2 separate regions of the Homo sapiens genome follow, and region 2 is linked to region 1. Evidence: promoter capture Hi-C in human tissues and cell types (Jung and others, 2019). All regions are on one chromosome and are shown on one strand. The core of a region is centred on a gene start or on the middle of the fragment in contact, and the rest is flanking DNA. Distances in the headings are between cores, read along the strand shown. Region 1 holds the start of SSX1 (SSX family member 1). Region 2 has its middle 12 kb from the start of SSX5.

Region 1 (5,064 bases), core at 848-3,347:
GACTTGTCTCCAGGGATGCTAGGTGATGACAGAACACAGGTGGGAGGCTCCCAAGGGTCCAGATCTCCCCCGAGACCCTGCTCCTTGTCCCCAGTACCTCTGTCCTCCCCTCCTCAGAAACCTGGTCACCCTACTCTGTCCCCTGGACCACTGCTCTGCCCCCTCCAGGTCACGTCACCTTGCTTCTCTTCTCTGATGCTTTAGCATCATCCCTGGGTCTCTTTGCAAAGGTGTCGTCTCCGTTCATGGCACCAGGAGCAGTCTCACCTGCAAGAGAAACAGCCTGAGACTTTCTAGCTACAGGACCCTTGGTCCTATGGAGGGAGAAATCAGTGAAGCCCGGCCACACTCAGTCACCTGGAATTAGGGGTTGCATTTCTCCATTCGGGGCTTACCTGTCCATGGGTAAGGACATGGAGAGAAGTCAGATGAAAACAGGGAGCCTGGAGTCTCTGGGAGAAGTATTGCTTGGGGATGACAGGTTTCCTAGCAGCCTTGAGTCTTTGGGAGGGGGTTGGCTAGTGTTGTTAGTAGTTTCCCTGGGGCTAGGCTTACCCTGAAAGATGTACAGACCCTTGCTGGGGAGGCAGGGACGTGACTGTGTAATTTTATTGAATGGGGGCGTTCTGACACCCCCACTCAATAAATAAAGGGAGGGAAGTGAGTCCCAGACATAACGTGGTCTTTCTGGTGATGGATCTGATCAGGCAGAGGGATGGGGGGGTTCTGTTCTGTTGAAGAGAAATGACCTTCACTAATATGAACAGATTTAGAAGCTATTACTGGGTTATTTGTAAATTATTAGAAGGAAGAGAGCTAGAATCTCTGAGATTACAAGAGCCTGCCATCACTTAGAGAAAATGTGGGGTGTTTCAATTTGCAGCAATCGGCCAGGCGCAGTGGCTCATGCCTGTAATCCCAGCATTTTGGGAGGCCGAGGCGTGCAGATCTCTTGAGCCCAGGAGGTTGAGACCAGCCTGGGAAACATAGCAAACCCCTCATCTCTACAAAAAAAAAAAAAAAAAAAAAAAAACAACCACACAAAAAATTAGCTGGGGGCGGTGGCACAGGCCTATAACATCTCAGCTCTTTGGCCAAGGGGGGGCGGATCGCTTGAGCCCACGAGGTTGATACCAGCCTAGCCAACCTAGAAAAACCCTCTACTAAAAAAAATAAAATAAAATAAAAAGTATTAGTGGGGGCGGGGTGGTGCTCGCCTGTAGTTCCGAGGCCGAGGCAAGAGGATCTCTTGAGCCCAGGAGGTTGAGGCCAGCCTGGCCAACATAGCAAAACCCCATTTCTACTACTAATAATAACAACAAAAATAATAACATCAGCGAGGTGGTTCTTGCCTGTAGTTCCGAGGCCGAGGTGGGAGGATCACTTGAGCCGAGGAGGTCAAGCCCAGTTCGGCCAACATAAGGAAACCCTGTCTCTACTAAAAAGAACAACAACAACAAAACTAGCAGGGGCGGAATGGCACACATCTGTAGTCCTGAGGCCAAGGTGTGAGGATCGCTTGAGCCCAGGAGGTTGAGGCCAGCCTGGCCAACATAGTGAAACCTGGTTTCTACTAAAAAAAAAAAAAAAAAAAGCATGGGCAGGATGGTGCACTTCTGTAGTCCCAGGGCCGAGGCGGAAGGATTGCTTAAGCCCAGGCGGCAGAGGCCAGCCTGGCCAACATAGCAAAACCGTCTGTACTAAAAAAATAAAAAATAAAAAAAATTAGTGAGGGTGGGGTGGTTCGTGCCTGTAGTCCCGAGGCCAAGGCGGGAGGATTGCTTGAGCCCAGGCGGTTGAGGCCAGCCTGGTCAACATAACAAATCCCCGTCTCTACTAAAAAAAAAAAAAAAAAAACAGGGGTGGGATAATACAGGCCTGTAGACCCAAGGCCGAGGCGGGAGGATCCTCCATGATGATCGTCCTGAAAGGCATTAGTTGTCTTTCAGTCCTCAAGATTTTCGGAACCCCAAGCACTTGACGGCCCTACAGAGGCTTCCTCCTTTTCTATCTGCCCCGATTAGCCCATCTAGGGTGTCCCTTAAAGAGAACCTACTTCAGAGACAAAGCAGTGGTTGCGAGGTCGGCAGCAGTGGTGGCGAGTTGGCAGCAGTTGGTGACAAAGTGTGGCTGGAGGAGGAGAAAATATTCTGCAATGTCATTGCTCCAGGATGATGGACCAATCAGGGCAGTTAGTGAACTCCATCTGGCCAATCAGAAGTCAGAACAGTAGGCGGGACAAGCCAAGCTGATGTGGGGTCTATCAGTCTAGGCTCTAGGGACAGAACCTTCTCAAAATGGAGGCAGAAACTCTGACTTTCCCGCCTAAAGCATCCCCTGGGATTGGCTACTCCAAGTTCAGAGTACGCATGCTCTGATTTTCTCTTTGGAGTCTTCCCAAATCAGAGTACGCATGCGCTGATTTTCTCTTTTCATTTTTCCTATCCCTCCCCACCTCCTCGGTGGTGCATTGTTATCCAGTTTTAATAAGGAGTGTATATGAAGCAGGTCATCATCTCAAATCCTTCCTGTCAGTTTCTATCTTTTTCAGGTATGGGATTTTTTCCTAGGAACTCTGTAGTGACGTAAGAAATTTGGGCCGGTGCGGCGGCTCACGGTTGTAATCCCAGCACTTAGGGAGGCCACAGCTGGAGGATCACTTGAACCTGGGAGGCAGAGGTTGCAGTGAGCCATGATCATGCCACTGCACCCCACCCTGGGCAACAGAGCAATACCCTGTCTCTTTTCTCTACAAAAAAAATAAATAAAATTAGCGAGGTGGGGTGGTGTGCCTGTAGTCCGTTACTCAGGAGGCTGAGGTAGGAGGATAGCTTGAGCCCAGGAGTACGAGGTTGCAGTGAGCCATGATCTGGCTACTCCTGCCTACCTGGGCCACAGAGCGAGATCTTGTCTTTAAAAAGAGAGAGAGAGAGAAAGAGAAAGAAAGAAAAATTTCAATGAGCCAGTCCCAGTGGCTCATGCCTGTAATCCCAACACTTTGAGAGGCTGAGGCAGGAGGTGGAAGGATCACTTGAGGCCAGGAGTTCCAGAACAATCTGGGATACATAGTGAGACCCCCATCTCTATAAAAAATTTTTAAAAAAGAAATTTAAACAAAAAAAAACACTTCTACACTTCCATATATGTTTTTTTCTAAAAGACCAAAGAAGCAGAAATATATTTTACCCATTGATATTAATAATATTTATAATAATAGTATTAAAAAGAGTATGTAATTAGGGCCCACTGTGTTCATCAGGGAGCTCATAAGTCAATTTGTCTAAGAAGTTTCCCCTACCCCCATCCCTAGTACCTCCAACAAGTCCCCATTCCTCTCTGGGCTTTCCACCTACAGCCCTGATCTCTCTAAGATCCTCCCAGGATTACAGCAAGCTCTCTTAGGGCAGGAACAGAGCAATGGCCCTTGAGCCCAGCACAAAGCCTTTTATGTGCATCTTCCCATTAATTTTCACAACCTTCTCTGGAGTTAAATACTATTATCATCCCCAGTATGCAGATGTTGAGACTGAGGCTCAAGAGAATTAAGCAGTCTGCTCAAAGTCACATAGTCAGTGGGTGACAGAGCTGGGATTCACCCCCAAGATAGAATTGAGTCCAAAGTCTGTGCTTTTATTTATGTATTTATTTATTTTTAATTAAAATAATTTTTTTTTAGAGATGGGGTCTTGCTATGTTGTCCCTGCTGATCTGGAAGGAACTGCTGGCCTCAAGCAATCCTCCTGCCTTGGCTTCCCAAAGCACTGGGATTACAGGAGTGAACCATCCCACGCCCGGCCTCAAAGTCGGTGCTTTTAATTACTCTTCTATATTGCCTCGACTACTTGTTGAATGAATGAATGCATCTTACAACTGCAAAGGTTCTTTAACATAATTTACATAACTCCTTACAATCACCCCATATTCCCTCTGACTGCTGTAACAAATTACCGCAAACTTTGTGGCATAAACAACATCAATTTATTCTCTCACAATTCTGGAGCCCAGAAATCTGAAATCAGTTTCACTGAGTTGAAATCAAGTTGTCAGCAGGGCTGTAGTCCTCCAGAGGCTCTAGGAGAGAACCTGTTCCTTGCCTCTTCCAGCTTCCCGTGATTGCCAGCATTTCTTGGCTTGTGGCTTGATATGGATTGGCTCTGTGTCCCCACCCAAATCTCATCTCGAATTGTAATCCCCACAGATTACAAATCCCCACGGGGGTGGTTTTCCCCATGCTGTTTTTGTGACAGTGAGTTCTCATGAGGTCTGATGGTTTTACAAGCGTCTGGCATTTCCCCTGCTTGCATTTCTGTCTCCTGCTACCATGCGAAGAAAGTCTTTGCTTCCTCTTCACCTTTGGCCATGATTGTTTCCTGAGGCCTCCCCAGCCATGCAGAACTGTGAGTCAGTTAAATCTCTTTCTTTTATAAATTACCCAGTCTCGGGCAGCTCTTTATAGCAGTGTGAGAAGGGACTAATATATGGCTGCATCACTCTAATCTCTACCTCCATGGTCATTGCCTTCGTTTGTTTTCTGTTACTATAATGGAATACCACAAACTGGGTAATTTATAAAGGATAGAAGTTCATTTGGTATACAGTTCTAGAGGCTAGGAGTCCAAGAACATGGCGCTGGCATCTGGTGAGGGTTGTGTCATGATGGAAGGATGAAAGGCAAAAGCAAGTGCAGGAGACAGACAGAGAAAATGTGACTAAGCTCCCTTTTATAACAAACCCAATCTCGTGATAACTAATCCACTCTTATGATAATGGCATTAATCACTTCCTAACAGCCCCACCTCTTAATATTGTTAACAATGGCAATTAAATTTCAACACAAGTTTTGGTGGGGACGTTCAAACCATGGCAGGCTTACTGCCTTCTTCTCTTCTGTCTGTGTCAGATCTCCCTGCCTTAATCTGATAAGGACACTCATTATTACATTTAGGGCCCACCCAGATAATCCAGACAATCCAGGAGAATCTCCCCATCTCAAGAGCTTTAACATAATTACTTTTTTTTTTTCGAGACGGAGTCTCACTCTGTTGACCAGGCGAGAGTACAGTG
Region 2 (4,867 bases), core at 2,350-4,849, 48 kb after region 1:
CTGTGCAATCCCTGCCCTCCCTCCTTCTCCACTTACAGCCATTCTTCTCAATTTGATGGTTTTTTATTCTCATTCATGTTTTTATACTTTACCATTTACTTATTATCCATAAAAATATATACTCTTGTTTTGCATGTTTTAGCATTTTATATGAATGGCCTCTGTAGTTAACTTTTTGTGTGCAATTTGTTTTTTCACTCAGCCCTGGTGTGTATGAGGGAATAATGTTAGTGGGAACTGTTCTGAACTCCCAAATAGCTGCGATTTCAGGCGCCCATCACCAACCCCTAGTAGAGATGGGGTTTCACCTTGTTGGCCAGGCTGGTCTTGAACTCCTTGAGCGATCCACTTGTCTCGGCCTCCCAAAGTGCTGGAATTACAGGCGTGAGCCACCGCGCCTAGCAGTGTCTAAGCTATTCAAAATTTGTTACAGCAGCAATAAAAAATGAATACGCATAGAAACATTTATTAGTGAAACAAAATAGAAGTCAAGAAACAGACTAATCTATATGAAAACATCAGCATGCATTTCCAAACAGTGGGCAAAAGATGATGGGTTGCATAATAAATGATTGCTTGACAAGTGTCTATCCATTTAAACCACATAAAATAACAAATTCTAAAAAATCAGTGACTTAAATGTGAAAACGTGAAGTCATAAAGAACTAGATGACAATTTAGGAAAATATTACAGTGTAAGACATCTTGAGTTGGCATAGGCATTTCCTGACATTACACCAAGGCTATGAGCAATGAATCTGACAAATTTAAAGATGTAAAAATTAAAGTATCATCTAATTCAAAAGACACCATAAACAACTGTTTAAAAAGGCAAATGTTGGGGAAATTGGTGAAGCATCCACAATAAATTAACAGCAACCATCTCTAATATACAACGAAGCTTTTGCATATCAATAAGAGAAACTGGAACAACCCAATGAAAAAATGTGTTCAGGCATGGCACTACTTCACCGTATAGCAGAAAAGGATCATGAAATAGAAAATATGAAAGGAAAATAATAAAGGAAATGGAGAATAGATCCCAGAAGTTTCAACGTTCATCCAATAGAAGTTCCAGAGATAGGCCAGGCGCGGTGGCTCATGCCTGTAATCCCAGCACTTTGACAGACTGAGGCAGACGGCTCGCCTGTGGTCAGGAGTTCGAGACCAGCCTGGCCAACATGGTGAAGCCCCGTCTCTACAAAAATACAAAAATTAGTCAGGCATAGTGTCACATGCCTGTGGTCCCAGCTACTCAAGGGACTGAGGCAGGAAAATTGCTTGGACTCAGGAGGAGGCAGAGGTGCAGTGAGCCAAGATCGAGTCACTGCACTCCAGCCTAGGCGAAAGAGCAAGACTCTGTCTCAAATAAATAAATAAAAATAAAACCTATTGGATAGATTGGATATGAAGACATTAACTGCTCAAATACATAATTCATTGGGATAGATTGGATATTAAGACGGATATAGTTGAAAAAGCAATTACTGACCTGAGGAAATTAGTCTAAAGAATTCATAAAAGTAATCGGTAATGGATAGAGATGAAGTAAACGAAAGAAAAGTTAATTAATAGGGAGCATAGAAGAATAAATGTCAAAACACATCTAATAGTAGCCTTATAAGAAGAGAACATAGTCATTAAAAAGGAGAGTGTACTTAAACAAGTAATGAGTGAGAATTTCTCAGATTTAGAGGAATATCTTAAGATTTAAAGGGATCATCGTACACACACACATACACACACAGGAACAGTGAAATGAAAAATTATGAAAGACAAAAATTTTTTTTAAATGATCAGAGGAAAATAGCAGGTTACTTACAAAGGAAAAATATTTCAGCCTTCATCAGATCTCTCAAACACCACACTGGAGGCAAGGATACAATGGTGTAATAACTCCAAAGTGTTGAACGAAAGGAATTTTTTTTTCTTTTTTTGGAGACAGAGTCTCGCTTTGTCACCCAGGCTGGAGTGCAGTGGCATGATCTCAGCTCACTGCAACCTCTACCTCCCAGTTTCAAGTGATTCTCCTCCTCAGCCTCCTGAGTAGCTGGGGCTACAGGTGCACACTATCACACCCAGCTAATTTTTGTACTTTTAGTACAAAATTAGTAGAGATGGGGTTTCGCCATGTTGGCCAGGCTGATCTCCAACTCCTGACCTGAGGTTATCTGTCCGCCTTGGCCTCCCAATATGCTGGGATTATAGGGGTAAGCCACTGCGCCCGTGAAAGAAAGGAATTTTTATATTTTTGGTGGAGTATGGCAATGTCAGGCATATAACACTTGAGGAGATTGAAGACACAGGGAAATGTTAAAGCAAACAAGTATTTATTGCACTTATTAAAGACTGTAAGGAAGGGCCAGCTGCAGTGGCTCATGCCTGTAATCCCAGCACTTTGGGAGCCTGAGGCAAGAGGATTGGTTGAGCCCAGGAATTCAAGACCAGCCTGGGCAACATGGTGAAACCCCATCTCTACAAAAAACAAAAACAAAAACAAAAACAAAAACAAAAACAAAAAAAACCACAAGAATTAGATGGGCATATCAAGTTCCTGGGTTCATACAGAATTAAAAAAAAAATAGCTGGATTTGGTAGTGCGTATCTGTAGTCCCAGCTACTCAGGAGGCTGGGGCAGGAAGATTGCTTGGGCCCTGGAGTTTGAGGCTGCAGTGAGCTAGGATTGGGTCACTGCACTCCAGCCTGAGTGACAGAGTGAGACTTTGTCTCTGAAAATAACAAAAAGATCGTAAGGATGATTTTACTCAGAGGGGGGACTCCTGTGATAGGCACAGGGACCACTGCAATGGGGTCTTGCAGTGGGAGAGTGATATTGGGATCGACTTCATCTCCACCAAGGACAAGTGGGGATTTGTAGTCAAGGAGTAGGGTCGGGGGGTCAGAAGATGGGAAATTACTTGGAGGAAACCTCAGGTGCAGGGGGATTCTGGCTAAACTGACTTGACAGGATTTTTGCTGAAACAGGCTAAATGGGCAGAGTCCCTGGATGAAGGACAGAGCCCGAGGTTGGGGCCTAGTCAGAAACAGGACTCAGAGGAGCCCCACTCAAGTTTGGTCAAAGAAGAGTGTCTCTGTCTGAAAGGATAAGCAAGAAAGTCAACAGCAGTAAAATGAATGGGTCACAAAGGAGAATTTTTGTGCATTGCTAAGCAGGACTCTGCTTTAACCATTGTGAAAGTTGATTACGTGAAGTGAGTCGCTCTTAGTTTTTTTTGAGTTCTTATTTGCAGAGGAAGCCTTCAGGTACTATGCTTCAGAGAGAATAGGTTGTAACATTTTTTTTTTTCTTTTTGAGACAGAGTCTCACTATATCGCCAGGCTAGAGTGCAGTGGCTCCTTCTCTGCTCACTGCAGCCTCTGGCTCTCGGGTTCGAGCGATTCTCTTGCCTGAGCCTCCTGAGTAGCTGAGACTACAGGCATGTGCCACCACGCCCGGCTAATTTTTTGTATTTTTAGTAGATACCGGATTTCACTATGTTAGCTAGGATGGTGTTGATCTCCTGACCTCATGATCCGCCCTCCTCAGCCCCCTAAAGTGCTGGGATTACAGGCGTGAGCCACCGCGCCCGGCCAACATGTTTCTTATCAGACTTCAAGTCTGTGTTGATGTTGATGCCAGAGAAGTATAATGAGGCATGTCTGACCCCCACTTCCTGTCATGGCCTGAAACCGTCTCTCAGGTTAAATTTTAAAAGAGCCCTGGCTTAGGAGGAAGTCTTTTCAGATGGTTGGGGGCAGGGGGCTTAGGATTTTATTTTTGATTTACAAGTCCTACAAGGTGAAACTGCACAAATTTTAAAGAACAAGTCTCATGCCTGATGTATGGACCACATAAAAAGTTCACCAAACTGTCCAATGCCATAACCAGAGACATTTGCTCGACAAGTCAGGATGAGAAGTTGATGTTTCCACACTGTAGACAGCTTTTCTCAAGATGCCAGAATAAGTCTTCATATCATAATGAGAATCTTACCCCCTGAATGTCTACATTTTTCACTTGACAGAACCTGACCCCAAATCTTTTCCTTCACCTAGTGGTCCCTTTTATAGAGTCGGCACTCTGCTTTAATTCAACCCAGTCCCAAAATACTACTCAAAGACTATAAGAGGTCTCACTCAATTGCCCCGTAGTCTTCTGATTTGTTTAGCTGGTGGCCCCTAGGCTTGGGATCTTCATTCAAAACCATTGTACAAACTAAATTTATTATATTATTGCTAATTATAGCTGGGTGTGGGGGCTTACACCTGTAATCTCAGCACTTTGGGATGCCAAGGCAGGCAGATCACTTGAGGTCGGGAGTTGGAGACCAGCCTGGCCAACATGGTGAAACCCCATCTCTACTAAAAAGACAAAAATTAGCCGGCCGTGGTGGTGGGCACCTGTAATCCAAGCTACTCGGGAGGCTGAAGCAGTAGAATCACTTGAACCTGGGAGATGGAGGTTGCAGTGAGCAACCTTGCTTACTACAGTGGCTGGATCACACCACTGCACTCCAGCCTGGGTGACAGAGCGAGACTCCATCTCAGAAAACAAAACAAAAACAAAAACCTAATAAATGCAGTTAAGAAACTATCTTAAAACAAAATCCCTGTTTTTTTAGACTGATTATTTAAAAGATAAAGAAAAACAGATCAACATGTTAAGAAAACCTGTTTCAAACCTAGAGGAGCAGACTCACCCTGCTTCAGTGCACCCTTGATACTAATGTTCAATTTTTAGAAAAACTGATAAACAATTTCTTTTCAATCCCAACCAACCAGATGATATATAAGACTCCCTTCCCAAGGCTCATCCTTCATAAACCCTCAGCAACTTGCGTAGACATTCCATCATTTTTTTACCCCC

Evidence for each region. Contacts are between HindIII fragments. The study calls those that stand out against the background at their distance.
Region 2: a fragment that was not itself captured here is called in contact with the fragment with the promoter of SSX1 in region 1 in 4 of the 25 tissues and cell types used here (aorta, pancreas, small bowel and 1 more).

Annotation. Positions count from the first base shown.
Region 1 is chrX:48,252,425-48,257,488 of GRCh38, reverse strand. SSX1 (SSX family member 1) reads right to left here and starts at 2,097. Exons shown (of 8, transcript NM_005635.4): 1 at 2,057-2,097; 2 at 179-267. The coding sequence starts at 247. The HindIII fragment of the contact is 20,804 bases long and covers 1-5,064 here.
Region 2 is chrX:48,206,382-48,211,248 of GRCh38, reverse strand. No RefSeq gene overlaps it. Among named protein-coding and RNA genes, the nearest start is that of SSX5, 12 kb to the right of the region's middle. The HindIII fragment of the contact is 6,299 bases long and covers 450-4,867 here.